Linked DNA regions of Homo sapiens: region 1 is linked to region 2. Evidence: promoter capture Hi-C in human tissues and cell types (Jung and others, 2019). All regions are on one chromosome and are shown on one strand. The core of a region is centred on a gene start or on the middle of the fragment in contact, and the rest is flanking DNA. Distances in the headings are between cores, read along the strand shown.

Region 1 (6,675 bases), core at 1,388-3,887, 590 kb after region 2:
CAGGTAGCTGAAGTTTTAATTATCTTCCCAGGTTGTAGGTTTGATAAGCCAAACCTTGGTCATAAACCATTTTTAGCGATTTAGAGCAGTCACCACACCAATGTATATGTTTTCTATTTGGATCATTTTCTGTCTTCCATGATGAGTCATGGAGTGCAGAGCTTTTAATAATGGAAGATTTACGGATTCAGGAAGGACCAGGTGGCTGTGCAGGATCTCTGTGATTCCATGCTTAACATTGCATTTATAGCCTGTTAAATACCAATTTTGTATCTCCAATTCAGGTGCATAGCACTGTTCATTAAATGGGTTATCATAGGTAATTTGACTTGGAACATAGAGTTCATTCAAGTTGCATATCTTAACAGTTTTAGTACTGGCTGATTTAGCATGAAAATCTGGCAGAGTATTTTTCTTAGTATTCAGTTAATTTTTGTCCTGCTTGGGTTAGCAGTTTTATAAACCAGTCTCTTTATTAAAGTTCTGGGAATTCTTACCCAGTCCAAATTAGATGAGCCTAAAGTTATCAGAAACTTGTATTCAGTAGTGCTTATTAGGGTCCTTTCCATTACTTTCCATGAACGTTCTTGAAGACATAATGCTCTAGGATTTTACTTGGTTGTAAAGAGCTTAAAGAAAATGCATCCGTATAAAGCAATTAACTGTGGAAACAAAATGATCATGGTTAAAGACATAATTGACAAGAAAATTTGGTTGTGGTCATGAAGGGTGTGAGGGTGCAGGCCTAGGTGCCAATATTGGGGGCAGGGACCTCAGCCTTCTGAGGCTACTCACAGGCATGCTGCCCCCCATGCCCAGCTCTGACACCAGCAGGAGGAAGGTGCTGGCTGCTGCAGGATCCTGGCTTGCTGCCTGTTGGCCCCGATCCTGCCCCATCCCTCCAGCTGGGCACCCCCAGGTGCTGCCATGCAACCAAGCAGGACTGTGCAGGACTGCGCAGGACTGCGTGGTGCCAGACTATATCTCTTCTAAAAATTCATTCAATTTGAAATAACCTTTAAATAACTTTTTTTCTCAGCAAACACATATTTTTATGCCTTTATAGCTTTCCTTACAAAAACATATCTTACTTTCTTTACATATTCTATATACAGAATTGCTTCTCTCTTTCCTTCCTTCTTTCCCTCCCTTCCTCCCTTCTTTTTTTCTTTCGAGATGGGATTGCTGTGTTGCCCAGTCTGGTCTCAATCAAACTCCTGGCTTCCAGAGATCCTCCTGCCTCAGCCTCCAAGTAGCTGGGGTTACAGGCCTAAGCCACCATGCCCAGCTCAGGTTTAATTTTTCTTACAATTAGTTGCTTAAGCTTTGCCTTTTATAAAGAGTTTTTAGGGCTAGGCGCAGTGGCTCATGCCTGTAATCCCAGCACTTTGGTAGGCTGAGGCAGGCAGATCACCTGAGGTCAGTTCAAGGCCATCCTGGCCAACATGCTGAAACCCATCTCTACAAAAATACAAAAATTAGCTAGGCTTGATGGCAGTCAAGTTACTAGTTACTGCGGGGGCAGGGGGGCGGCGGGGGGAGGCTGAGGTGGCAGAATCGCTTGAACCTGGAAGACGGAGGTTGCAGTGAGCTGAGATCGTGCCATTGCACTCCAGCCTGGGCGACAGAGTGAGACTCCGTCTCAAAAAAAAAAAAAAAAAAAGACAAAAACTGAGGTCCCAATTCAAAGCAGTTAGGAGGAAATCCCCCCTTTCTTTGATTCTGGAGTCCTGGGGGAGCTTCAGCCTTTTTGTTCTATTCAGACCTTCAACTGATGGAATGGGACCCACCCACATTGGGAAGGACAGTCTGCTTTGCTAGTCTGCCTGTCCAAGTGCTAATCTCATCCAAAAACAGCACCGTAGACCCACCCAGAACAATGTTTGGCGAAACGCGTGTGGCCCAGTGAAGTTGACACAAAAAATTAACCATCATCCTCATAAAATACCTAGTACAATCTGAATAAAATGTGTACCATTGTTGGTTCTTTAGTTGTGACAGATTGCACTATATAAAGTAAGCTATTAACAATAGGGGAAAATGAGAAGGCATATGGGAACTCTGTGTGCTGTCTTCTCAACTTTTCCATTAAGTCTAAAATTCTCCAGTGGTTTATTTTTTAAAATAATAAATTCAAAATAAAATTATGTTTTAGGCATGTTACATTTTAGGTGACAGTGGACATTCAAAGTGAATACATTAAGAAACTGAAAATACATATGTCAGAAGGCTGAAGATGAAAAATGAAGTCTTCATCAATAGAGACATGATACGAAGACGTAATCTCGGTGGGAATGAGTAATGAAGAAAAAGCAGGCAAAGAATTAAGTTCTAAGAATGTCTAGAATTAGAAGGGAAGAAGAGATCCAAGACTATCTGCATATTTCACTCTCTAAAATTAAGATGAGAGAGGTTTGAGGAGGAGAGAGCCTGGCCTAAAGAGGACAGAGGATTAAGGAAGAGTTATATTTTTATTTGACTGTATTTGTGTTGTCCCCTGCCCCCCCATCGCCCCTCCTCCCCCAGCCTTACCCTCACCTTTTCTAGAGACAGGATCTCCCTCTGTCACCCAGGCTGGAGTGCAGTGGTGTGATCATAGCTTGCTGCAGCCTCAAACTCCTGGGCTCAAACGATCCTCCTGCCCTCAGCCTCCTGAGTAGCTTGGATTACAGTTGCACACCACCATGCCCAGCTAAGTTTTTTTTTTTTTAAACAGCAGGAAGCCTAAAGATGGGTAAAAAGGATTACTTCTGATAGTAAAAGTCATATGAAGCAGGAAATAAGGAAATGTACTCAGATACCTCGTTTAAAAAATAAAAGGCCAGGCCCAGTGGTTCAGGCCTGTAATCCCTGTACTTTAGGAGGCTGTGGCAGGAAGACTGCGTGAAGCCTGGAGTTCATGACCAGCCTGGGCAACATAGCAAAAAAATCTAAAAAATGAGTCACACATAGTGGGATACACCTATAGTCCCAGCTGCTCAGGAGGCTGAGGTGGGAGAATTGCTTGAGCCCAGTTCTGGGATGCAGTAAGCTATGTCTGTGTGACTGCATTCCAGCCTGGGTGACGGAGTGAGACCCCGTCTCTAAGAAAATATAAAAAGTAAAAAGAAGATGTACAGTCTGTGACAAAATAGGTAATAGAATTAGGTTAAATTTTATTTTATTGTAAGCCATAATTAAATGTTTGAAGACAGATTGAAACATTTATCTGCCCTTCTCTTTTCTTCTGACTATTCTAATCCACCATGAAACTCGTAGGGTCAAAATAGTTAATATAGGAAACTTTCCGCATCCTTTGGGGGTAAGAAATAAGTTACAAAAAAATTTTAAAGCTAAAAATAAAATTGGAGATTTCTTCACATTTTCTAAAAATGTCTTAAGGTTCTCAAGTCCTGAAATTTACAAATGTGTGTGTATCCATGGAAACATGGGCGAAAGCCATGCAGGTTAAAGTCAGACTCAAATGTTGTAAAGCAGGTGCTCAGCGAGTTAACAAATATTATAAAATCCTAAATTATACTTAACCTTTTTGGTATAATCTTCAGTAATACAGTTCAAACATTTGTGCACACACTTTCATTTTATTATCCATTATTCATAATTGAGCACATGGAAGGCTGGCTTAACACCTGAAAGCAATCTGTTACATTGAGATGCTTCTTTTTGCTGATACTAACACTTGCATTTTCCCCCAAATCCAATAAAATACTCTAATAATTTCACAGAGATGCATCAATGTGGTGATACTGCCAAAAGTGAAATGTTGGTGAGCCAGTACCACCTTCACTCAGTAGCTCAAAAGTTTGTCAGCTGGTGAACACAAAATATAAAATCCACATTGAAAAGCCTCTTAGGTACATAAGTATATAATATATGAAAATCAGACTGTGAAAGTTGAAGACCATCTGTGAATAAAAATGCAAATATTTTAAATTTTTAACTACCTACAGTTTCAGGGTTTTACTGCTTTCCTTATGTGTGTGTCTAGCATTTAAAATTTTTCTATTTTGTTCAGCATATGTTCTTTACAAATGAGTGGTATGTCTTCCATAAAAAAGGACTCATTATCCCCTCAGCACAATCTTCAAGACAGGACACTTTCTATGGCCAGGCCTGGTGGCTCACGCCTGTAATCCCAGCACTTTGGGAGCTGAGGCAGATGGATTACTTGAACCCAGGAGTTGAAGACCAGCCTAGAAAGCATGGTGAAACCCCAACCCTACCAAAAAAAAAAAAGACACACAGGACACTTTCTACCAAGGAACCAGCTGGCTGCTTCCAGATAGCTGCACCAGACTTCTTTCAGATGCTTCTGGGATATGGTCTTCTGACCATGTTCTTTAGCCTCCTTTGCTTCCTGTTACCTGCTCAGTCTCAAGAGCTCCTGACTCAGGCTTTTGGTCTGTTTTCCTGAAATCTTCTGCGTCTGGACTAGTATCTGAATTAACTATGCCTAGAGTTTTGGCCTACTAGTATCTGCAAAGCATTCTCACTTCCACCTGCTCACACTCTTGGGCTAAGTGGTCACCCATAAGTAAGCCTATGCTCTGGCCCCTCCCCAGACCTAAAGAGAGCTTCTTGCCTCTCCCCAGACCTAAAGAGAGCTTCTTGCCTATTTTGCTATCTAAAGACCTCTATGATTAAAATTTTCCTTTAATTGAGTCTCACAGCTTTACTTCAGCACACTTACTATTACATAGTAATGGATAAGCAGGAAATAAAGATCTACAAAAGTCAAACAAATCATATATAGTTATAGAAACATTTGTAATATTTGAGGTAAGGATTTACAAAGCTGTTTTATCAAAGGTCCTGGGTTTCTTCTAGTTTACTTAGCTCTTTATACAATGATTGTAATAACCACAAACTTTTTGCTAACCCCACACCAATTAGGGGTGCTGTTGAAACTGGTCAGATGCAAAAATATAAAGATTCTTTCTACTGCTTATCTTTAATGTATGGGGAGTAAATCTTCCTCCTGCCAAATTATAAAGTACTTCACTGTTCCTGAGCAGTGAAAATTAGAATATATTTTATTTATGAGAATGCATTTAAATAATTGCTGTATTATTTAAAAGCTATATTATTAGAGTTGTTCTTATCAGCCTACATATGGAAATAGTCTGTAAACAGACTGTTACACAGTTTCAGCTATTCTCTTACTCATTGGCTAAAGACTATTAGGTTGTAATAATAATATTATTTTATATATTTTTATTAGTAATAATATTTATTATAATATATATATTTGAGACAGAGCAAGACCTTGTCTCAAAATTATGTATATATAAAATAATAAAAAAATAATAATATTATTCCAACCTGCCACCCAGGTTGGAATGCAGTGGTATAATCCTAGCTCACTGCAGCCTCTGATGGCTAGGCTTAAGCATTCCTCACACCTCTGCCTCCCCAGTAGCTGAGACCACAGGCATGAACCACCACGCCCAGCTGACTATTTTATTTGTAGAGGCATTGTCTCACCAGGTTGCCCCAGAGTGTATTAGATTATTTTGTGTATAATCTGTATATTTCATACTAAAGTTGGTTTAAATAAATTGTTTGGGTTAGCCCCAAACAAAACCAAAAATTTTATGGAAAGAGGTCCATTTTTCCTAGTCAAAGAACTTTAAATTTTCTAGTAAAGTATTTAAAGTCATGATTTATTGTAAAATGGTAAGATAATCAATAGCTACTTACTGTTGCTTGTTTCCAGCACCTAACTGTATATCTTATTGTAATGGATCTTTCCTGTAGGACTATTTCACTTTGTTATAGTAAGAGTAAGAGGGACATTTTGTGATTTAGGAATTTGTAATTAACTGTTAACTGTAATATAAAGTAGGCGATTTATTCTTACCAGTGGCTCATGCCTATAATCCCAGCACTTTGAGAGGCTAAGGTGGGAGCATTGCTTGAGCCCAGGAGCTGGAGACTAGCTCAGGCAACATAGTGAGACCCTTCTCTACAAAAAAATTAAAAATTGGCCTCATGTGATGGCATGTGCCTGTAGTCCCAGGGATTCAGGAAGCTGAGGCGGGAGGATTGCTTGAGCCCAGAAGAGTGAGGCTGCAGCGAGCCATGATCGTGCCACTACACTTCACCCTGGGTGATACAGCGAGACCAAGACCCTGTCTCAAAAGAAAAAGAAAAAAAAAAAGATGAATTATCACCAGCTATAATTGTCTTTGTGTGACTTAGTGACTTGATTTTTCCACAGAAATCTTTTAAATCTTAGGCTAATTGTTCCTGAAACCCAGCATGTTTCTTTTCTTTCTTTCCTTTTTCTTCTTTTCTTTAGAGACAGGGATCTCTCTCTGTTGCCCAGGCTGGAGCACAATGGAGGAGTCACAGCTCACTGTAGCCTTGAATTCCTGGCTTAAGTGATCCTCCTGCCCCAGCCTCCCAAGCAGCTAGGACTACAGGCACACACCACCACACCTGGCCAATCTTTTAATATTTTTTTGTAGAGATGAGGTCTCTCTGTGTTGCCCAGGCTGGTCTTGAACTCCTGGGCTCAAGCAGTTGTCTTGCCTCAGCCTCCCAAAATGCTGGGATTATAGGTGTGAGCCACCGCACCCAGCCTGGAATCCCATTTTAAATGTACTGATGGAGTTGACAATGTCAAGGAAACTTGCGTTAATTTTTAAATTTTGTTTTTTGTGTAGTGGATCC
Region 2 (6,569 bases), core at 3,903-6,402:
CAATATACATTAATGCATATATTAATAATAAAGGAAACTGGGGGTAGGGGTTGGGAATGAGGGGGTATATGGGAACACACTGCATTCCCCATTCAATTTTTCTGTAAACCCAAAACTGCTCTAAAAAAAATGAAATCTATTAAAACAGAACGCATATAAACAGAACAGTATGATTAACATGCTATCTTACGTTTGTGCTTTTATTTGTACTTGTGTAATTATGTACAAATAAGCTCTGGAAAGCTACACAAGAAAGTAATGACAGTGGTACCTGCTTGGGGTGGAGGGATTTAAATACAAACCCACATATTTACTGCATTCTCTGGCATTAGGCTAATCTGACTGGAAAAACCAAATACATACAATAATCTTCTGCACTTGCACTGAGGAATGTTATATGAAACAACCACAGATAAAGTGATAACCCTTTCAAAGTTGGTTGTTTCTGGGGGTGCTGTCCAAAACACCATCTATATGAAGGTCCATAAAATTTATTCAGACCTAATGTACAGAACCAAATAATTGGTATTCATAACCAATGCAAGACATTTAATTAACTCAATTTGCTTTTTGGCTGCTGGTATTGATTAGTTATTCTTGCTATGTTTCCTTTGTGTCTTATTCATACTTTTCTATTTCATTTTCTGGATCCTTATAAACTTCCTTAAATGCACTGAAAAGCAAAATGGGGAATAAACAAACAACTCACCTGGGATTTGTTCATTTTCTGCAGTTTTGGGCAAAGGCAGAGAACTATGAAGGCAGAACTGGAATAGAGGAAAAAGGAAGGCATTGTTATTAAAGGTCTGACCTGCCTTACAACTCCTAGAATGACTTGTTTAGAAACCCCTAGAGACCACCTGGGAAAATACCACCTCCTGGGAAAGTCCCTTTGCCTCTTCAGAAGGGGCAGAAAAGATCATACTAACAGCACCTATCTTCAATCTAACATTATCAGACACCCATAAAGGCAAGACTAAGATAATCCACTATCAAAAGAGGCAAAACAATCAACAGAACCCTCAACTGCTGAAATTATCAGACAGGGCATTTAACACAACTATGATTCATATACTAAAGGCTTTACTAGAAAAGGTGGACAACATGAATAAACAAATAGGGAATTTCAGCAGAGATGGAAACTGCAAGAAAAAATCAAATGGAAATGCTAAGAAAAGTACAGTAACAGAGTTGATCTTTCAGCAGGTTCATTAGTAGACAAAGGAGCTAAGAAAAGTTTCAGTAAACTTGAAGATAGGTCAAACTGAAACTCAAAGAGAAATGGAAGAAAAACATAAAAGGATAGAGCATCCAAGGGCTGTGAGACAATATCAAATGGTCTAATAAACATGTAACTGAAATTCCAAAAGGAGAAAAGAAGTATTTGAAGACATAATGGACAAGAATTTTCCAAAAATAATAATATGAAACCACAGGTCCAAGAAACTCAATTTATCCAAACAGGGAAAATACCAAAAACTAAACTCAAACAAAAACACACATGGACACATCGTATCCAAACAAATGAAAACCAAAGTTAAAATCTTCAAAGTAGCCAGAGGAAAAAAGACATATTATATGTAGAAAAATCAAGATAATGAATCATAGCCACCTTCTCATCAGAAACTAAGCCAGAAAACAAAGTAGTGACATCCTGAAAGTGCTTTCACAACAACAAAAAAGCAACTAAAGCAAAAAACTATTAACTCAGAATTCTATACCCAGCAAAAATATCTTTCAAAAATGATAATGAAGTAAAAAACCTTTTTCAAACAACAAAAACATAGCGAATTCATTATCAGTAGACCTGCACTAGAAGAAATGTTTAATGAAGTTATTTAAATAGAAGAAATATGATATCAGACAAAAACCTGAATCTACACAAATAAATGAAAATCTCGAGAATCGTTAAAATGAGGATCAACACAATAGATACTTTTTCTTGCTTTTAATCACTGTGAAAGATTATCTAAAGCAAAAATAGTAGCAAAGTTTTGTGGGTTTACAGCATATGTCAATATTCTGCAACATGTATGACAACAATAATGCAAAAGACGGGAGGATGAAATTGGGAGTATAATGTTCCAAGTATATTGACATAAAACAGTATGATATCTTTAAAGTTCCACTAAACTTTAGGGTAACAACCAAAAACTCTGTTAAATTTTTACAAATATACAATAAGACAACAGTGGAGATAAAATGTAATTATAAAAAAGACCCACTTAAGACAAAAGTAGACAGAAAAAAAGGTAAACAGAAACAAAGACCAAATAAGAAAAACAGAAAAAAACCAGCAAGATGGTAGACTTTAACACAACTATATCAATAATTGGCATAAACACACCAATTAAATAACAGAGGTCAAATTATATAAAAAAAGTAAGACCAAACCATGTGCTGTCTATAAGCAGTTTGTTTAAAATATAAAAACATAGCTACATTCAAAGTAAAAGGATGATCAGTTGTAGGAGTCAGGAAATTAAAAAAAAAAAAGATAAAAGAATGGAAAAAGAGGGTCAGGCACAGTAGCTCATGCCTGTAAACCCAGCACTTTGGGAGGCAAAGGTGGGTGGACTGCTTGAGCCCAGGGGTTTGAGACCAGCCTGGGCAACATGGCAAAACCTCGTCTCTACAAAAAATACAGAAAATTAGCTGAGTGTGGTGGCTCACACCTTGAGTCCTAGCTACTCCGGAGGCTGAGGCAAAAGGATTAGGGCGCACACCTGCAGTCCTAGCTACTCGGGAGGCTGAGGCAAAAGGTTTGAGGTTGCAGACAGCTGTGACTGAACCACTGCACTCCAGCTTGGGCAACAGAGACAGACCCTGTCTCAATCAATCAATCAATCAAGGAAGATTCTACGATCAACAGCACAATATTTATTCAAATACACACGAAACAGTTACCCAGAGAGATCATCATATCCTCGACCTTAAAACAAACTACAACAGGCCTGGTGCAGTGGCTCACGCCTGTAAAGCACTTTGGGAGGCCAAGGTCAGCGGATCACTTGAGACCAGGAGTCTACTAAAACAAAATGAAACAAAAATACAATACAAAAACAAACCACAACAAATTTAAAATAATTGAAATTCGTAACACAGTATTCTGACCAAATCAGAATTAAACTATAAATCAATAATATAAAAAGATCTGGGCCGGGTGCGATGGCTCACGCCTGTGATCCCAGCACTTTGCAAGGCCGAGGCAGGTGGATCACCAGGTCAGGAGATAGAGACCATCCTGGCTAACACGGTGAAACCCCGTCTCTACTAAAAATACAAAAAAAAATAAAAAAATTAGCCAGGTGTAGTGGCGGGCGCCTGTAGTCCCAGCTACTCTGGAGGCTGAGGCAGGAGAATGGTGTGAACCTGGTAGGCGGAGCTTGCAGTGAGCCGAGATCTCGCTACTGCACTCCAGACTGGGCAACAGAGCGAGACTCTGTCTCAAAAAAAAAAAAAAAAAGATCTGGAAAATCTCCAAAAACTTGGAAATTATGCAATACAATCTAAATAAATAAGGGTAAAAAATGAAGTCACAAGGGAAGTTAAAAAAATTTGAATTGAATGGTAATGAAAACACAATAAAAAGGCTGGGTGCAGTGGTTCATGCCTGTAATCCCAGCACTTTGGGAAGCCAAGGCGGGAGAATCACTTGAGGTCAAGAGTTCTAGAGCAGCCGGGCCAACATGGTGAAACCCCGTCTCTACTAAAAATACAAAAATCAGCCAGGTGTAGTGGCGGGTGCCTGTAATCCCAGCCAGGAGGACTGCTTGAACCCGGGAGGCAGAGGTTTCAGTGAGCTGAGTGCCACTGCACTCCAGCCTGGGTGACAGAGTGAGACTCAGTCTCAAAAACAACAACAACAGAAAAGAAAATACAAGATATAAAAATTTGAGTGATGTAGTTAAAGTAGTATTTAGAGGAACAGTTACATCAATAAATTGTGTCTGGCCGGACGCGGTGGCTCACGCCTGTAATCCCAGCTACTCGGGAGGCTGAGGCAGAGCACTACTTTAACCCAGGAGGCGGAGGTTGCAGTGAGCCGAGATCAAGCCACTGCACTCCAGCCTGGACGACAGAGCGAGACTCCGTCTCAAAAAAAAAAAAAAAAAAAAGAAAGTAAAGAAAAGAAACGGTACAATACAAAAATATAGTATTACAATCACATAGGACCACCATTTTACATGAGGTCCCTCGTTGACAGAAACACTGTTACGCAGAGCGTGACTGCACCAGAATCATGGGAAAACTTTCGTATTTCAAAGTAGTGAAGAATTTTGGGTGCCCCAAACGGAAAGAACAGTAAATTCCACCCGAGAGAAATTTAAAACGTCAAAACGTATACATGGCAAAATCTACCAGCGAGTAAAATCAAAAGATAAATGAAAAAATATCTGCTGCTCACATAAAGTACCACCGGGTTGTGAGACCTTAGGGAAATCACTTTCCCCTTCTGAACCTCCCGTGTTCCTGGGATAGCGACGGAGATGATAACGCTGGAAGTCACGGGGTGGATGCGAGGATCAGGGGAACACCTCACTGAAGACCCTCTGACAAAGGGATCACGGTTCTCCTTCACCACCGGCAACTGACCAGGCTCCAGTCCTTCCTCCACCCACGAGGCACCGGGCATCGGGGCGTGGCCAGGTGTGTCAGGCCACGCCCCCACCACGCCCCGGCGGGGCCTCGTCCCGCGCGCGCGCGCCCGCCGGGGCTCCAGAACTCGCTCCCGCGCGGCCCGAGCCCTTCGCCGCCCGTCTGAGGCGCATCTCCTGACAAAGAGAAGAAGGCGAAGCCTCATAGCCGCCCTTCCCTCCGCCGTCCCCGCCCCCGCACGTTCGGCCAGGCGTGCCCCGCCGGCCCCGTTCAGAGGCGAGCGCCGGGCAACCCCGGACGCCGCCCTGAGGGTCACTGCCGCCTACGAGTAGCCGAAGTTTGGGCTCCCACCCTGCGCGGGCACGAGCCCATCCCTCATCTCCTTCCCCTCGGCCCCAGGCCGCGCGGAGCTACCTGGAAGCCCCTCTCGTACCTGGAGGGGCGCAGCCTCCACTCGTGGCCCAGTGCCACAGCGGGTCACGGCGCAGGGCGGCGAAGACGCGCGGAGACGGGGGCTCTGTCACCCACTCGCCGCTGGTGGTGGGGGAAGGGCGGCCACCGGCGCGCTCGCAGCACTGCACATGCGCAGAAACAGGGGCGCGGGCCGTTCCCAGGGTCCTCGGAGGGGTGGACCATCCACGTTCGGGACTACATTTCCCACAAGCCTCCGGGGCCGCGGCTTTAGGGACTCTCAGGAAAGTCTTCGCCTTGTTAGGCGGTCTGATGAGCCGACCAAAATAATCTCCTTAGCCTGCACTGTTTTCTTTTTTCCCAGAGTGGGTCGTGAACTACAATTCACCACCTCCCCCTTAAATACAACAACTTGGCTTTTAAACATTACACAAATAATCTATAACTGTATTTAATTAGAATATATGTACAAAATAAAGTATCCATAATCTCACTTTCTAAAGATTAACTGCGTATAACATTAAGTTCGCACTTTGATTTTTTTGTTGTTGTTACAAAACTGGCCATAAAGGTATCATGTGCTGCAACTAGCTTTTTTCCCTTTTTTCCCAGGCCACTTTGTTGAGGTATATATATTTGTTGAGATCTATATATTTAAGATGTACAACTTGATATCTACATTTGTGAAATATTCACCATAATCAAGCTAATTAACATGTGCATCACCTCACATAGTTATTTGTCTGATGAGAACACTTAAGATCTATCTTCTTAGCAAATTTCAAGTACACAATATTGTCAACTATCGTCACATAGCTGTGCATCTCCCCAGAACTACTCATCTTGCATAACTGAGACTTTGTACCCCTTGACCACCATCTTCCCATTTCCCTTCACCCTCAGTTCCTTTCATCCTTTAGAACAGTTTTAGGTTCACAGCAAAATTTGAGCAGAAAATACATTGAATTCCCATATAACCCATGTCCCCCCAGCACACACAACCTCCCCAAAGTTGATATCCCACACCAGAACAGTGTATTTGTTACAATTGGTGAACCTACAGTTAAATATCAGCACCTGGCCAGGCTCAGTGGCTCACACCTGTAATCCTAGCACTTTGGGAGCCTGAGGCAAGCAGATTGCTTGAGCCGAGGAATTTGAAACCAGCCTGGCCAAAATGGTGAAACCTCATCTCTTAAAAAAAAAAAAAAAATACAAAAATTAGCCGGGCATGGTGGCACGCACCTGTAGTCCCAGCTACTCGGGAGGCTGAGGTGGGAGGATCACTTGAGCCTGGGAGGCTGAGGTTTCAGTGAGCCAAGATTGTGCCACTGCACTCCAGCTTGGGTGACCCTGTCTCAAAAAGTATAAATTAAAAAACAAAATCATTGGCACCCAAAGTCCATAGCTTACATTAGTGTTCACTTGATGTTGTACATTCTATGGGTCTTGACAAATGCCTGTAACCATTACAGTATCGTACAGAATAGTTTCACTGCCCCCCAAAAAATCATCTGTGCTCCATTTATTCATCCATCCCACAACCCCTGGAAATCTCT

What was found. Contacts are between HindIII fragments. The study calls those that stand out against the background at their distance.
Region 1: a contact is called between a fragment that was not itself captured here and the fragment with the promoter of ZFP1 in region 2, in 1 of the 25 tissues and cell types used here (dorsolateral prefrontal cortex).

What each region holds. Positions count from the first base shown.
Region 1 is chr16:74,555,315-74,561,989 of GRCh38, reverse strand. All of the region lies in intron 1 of GLG1 (golgi glycoprotein 1), which reads left to right. Among named protein-coding and RNA genes, the nearest start is that of GLG1, 48 kb to the left of the region's middle. RefSeq lists a silencer at 4,232-4,432. The HindIII fragment of the contact is 4,018 bases long and covers 629-4,646 here.
Region 2 is chr16:75,147,107-75,153,675 of GRCh38, reverse strand. It overlaps ZFP1 (ZFP1 zinc finger protein), which reads right to left and starts at 5,152. Exons shown (of 4, transcript NM_153688.4): 1 at 5,033-5,152; 2 at 710-767. The coding sequence starts at 724. RefSeq lists a silencer at 4,562-4,931 and an enhancer at 5,292-5,341. The HindIII fragment of the contact is 27,656 bases long and covers 1-6,569 here.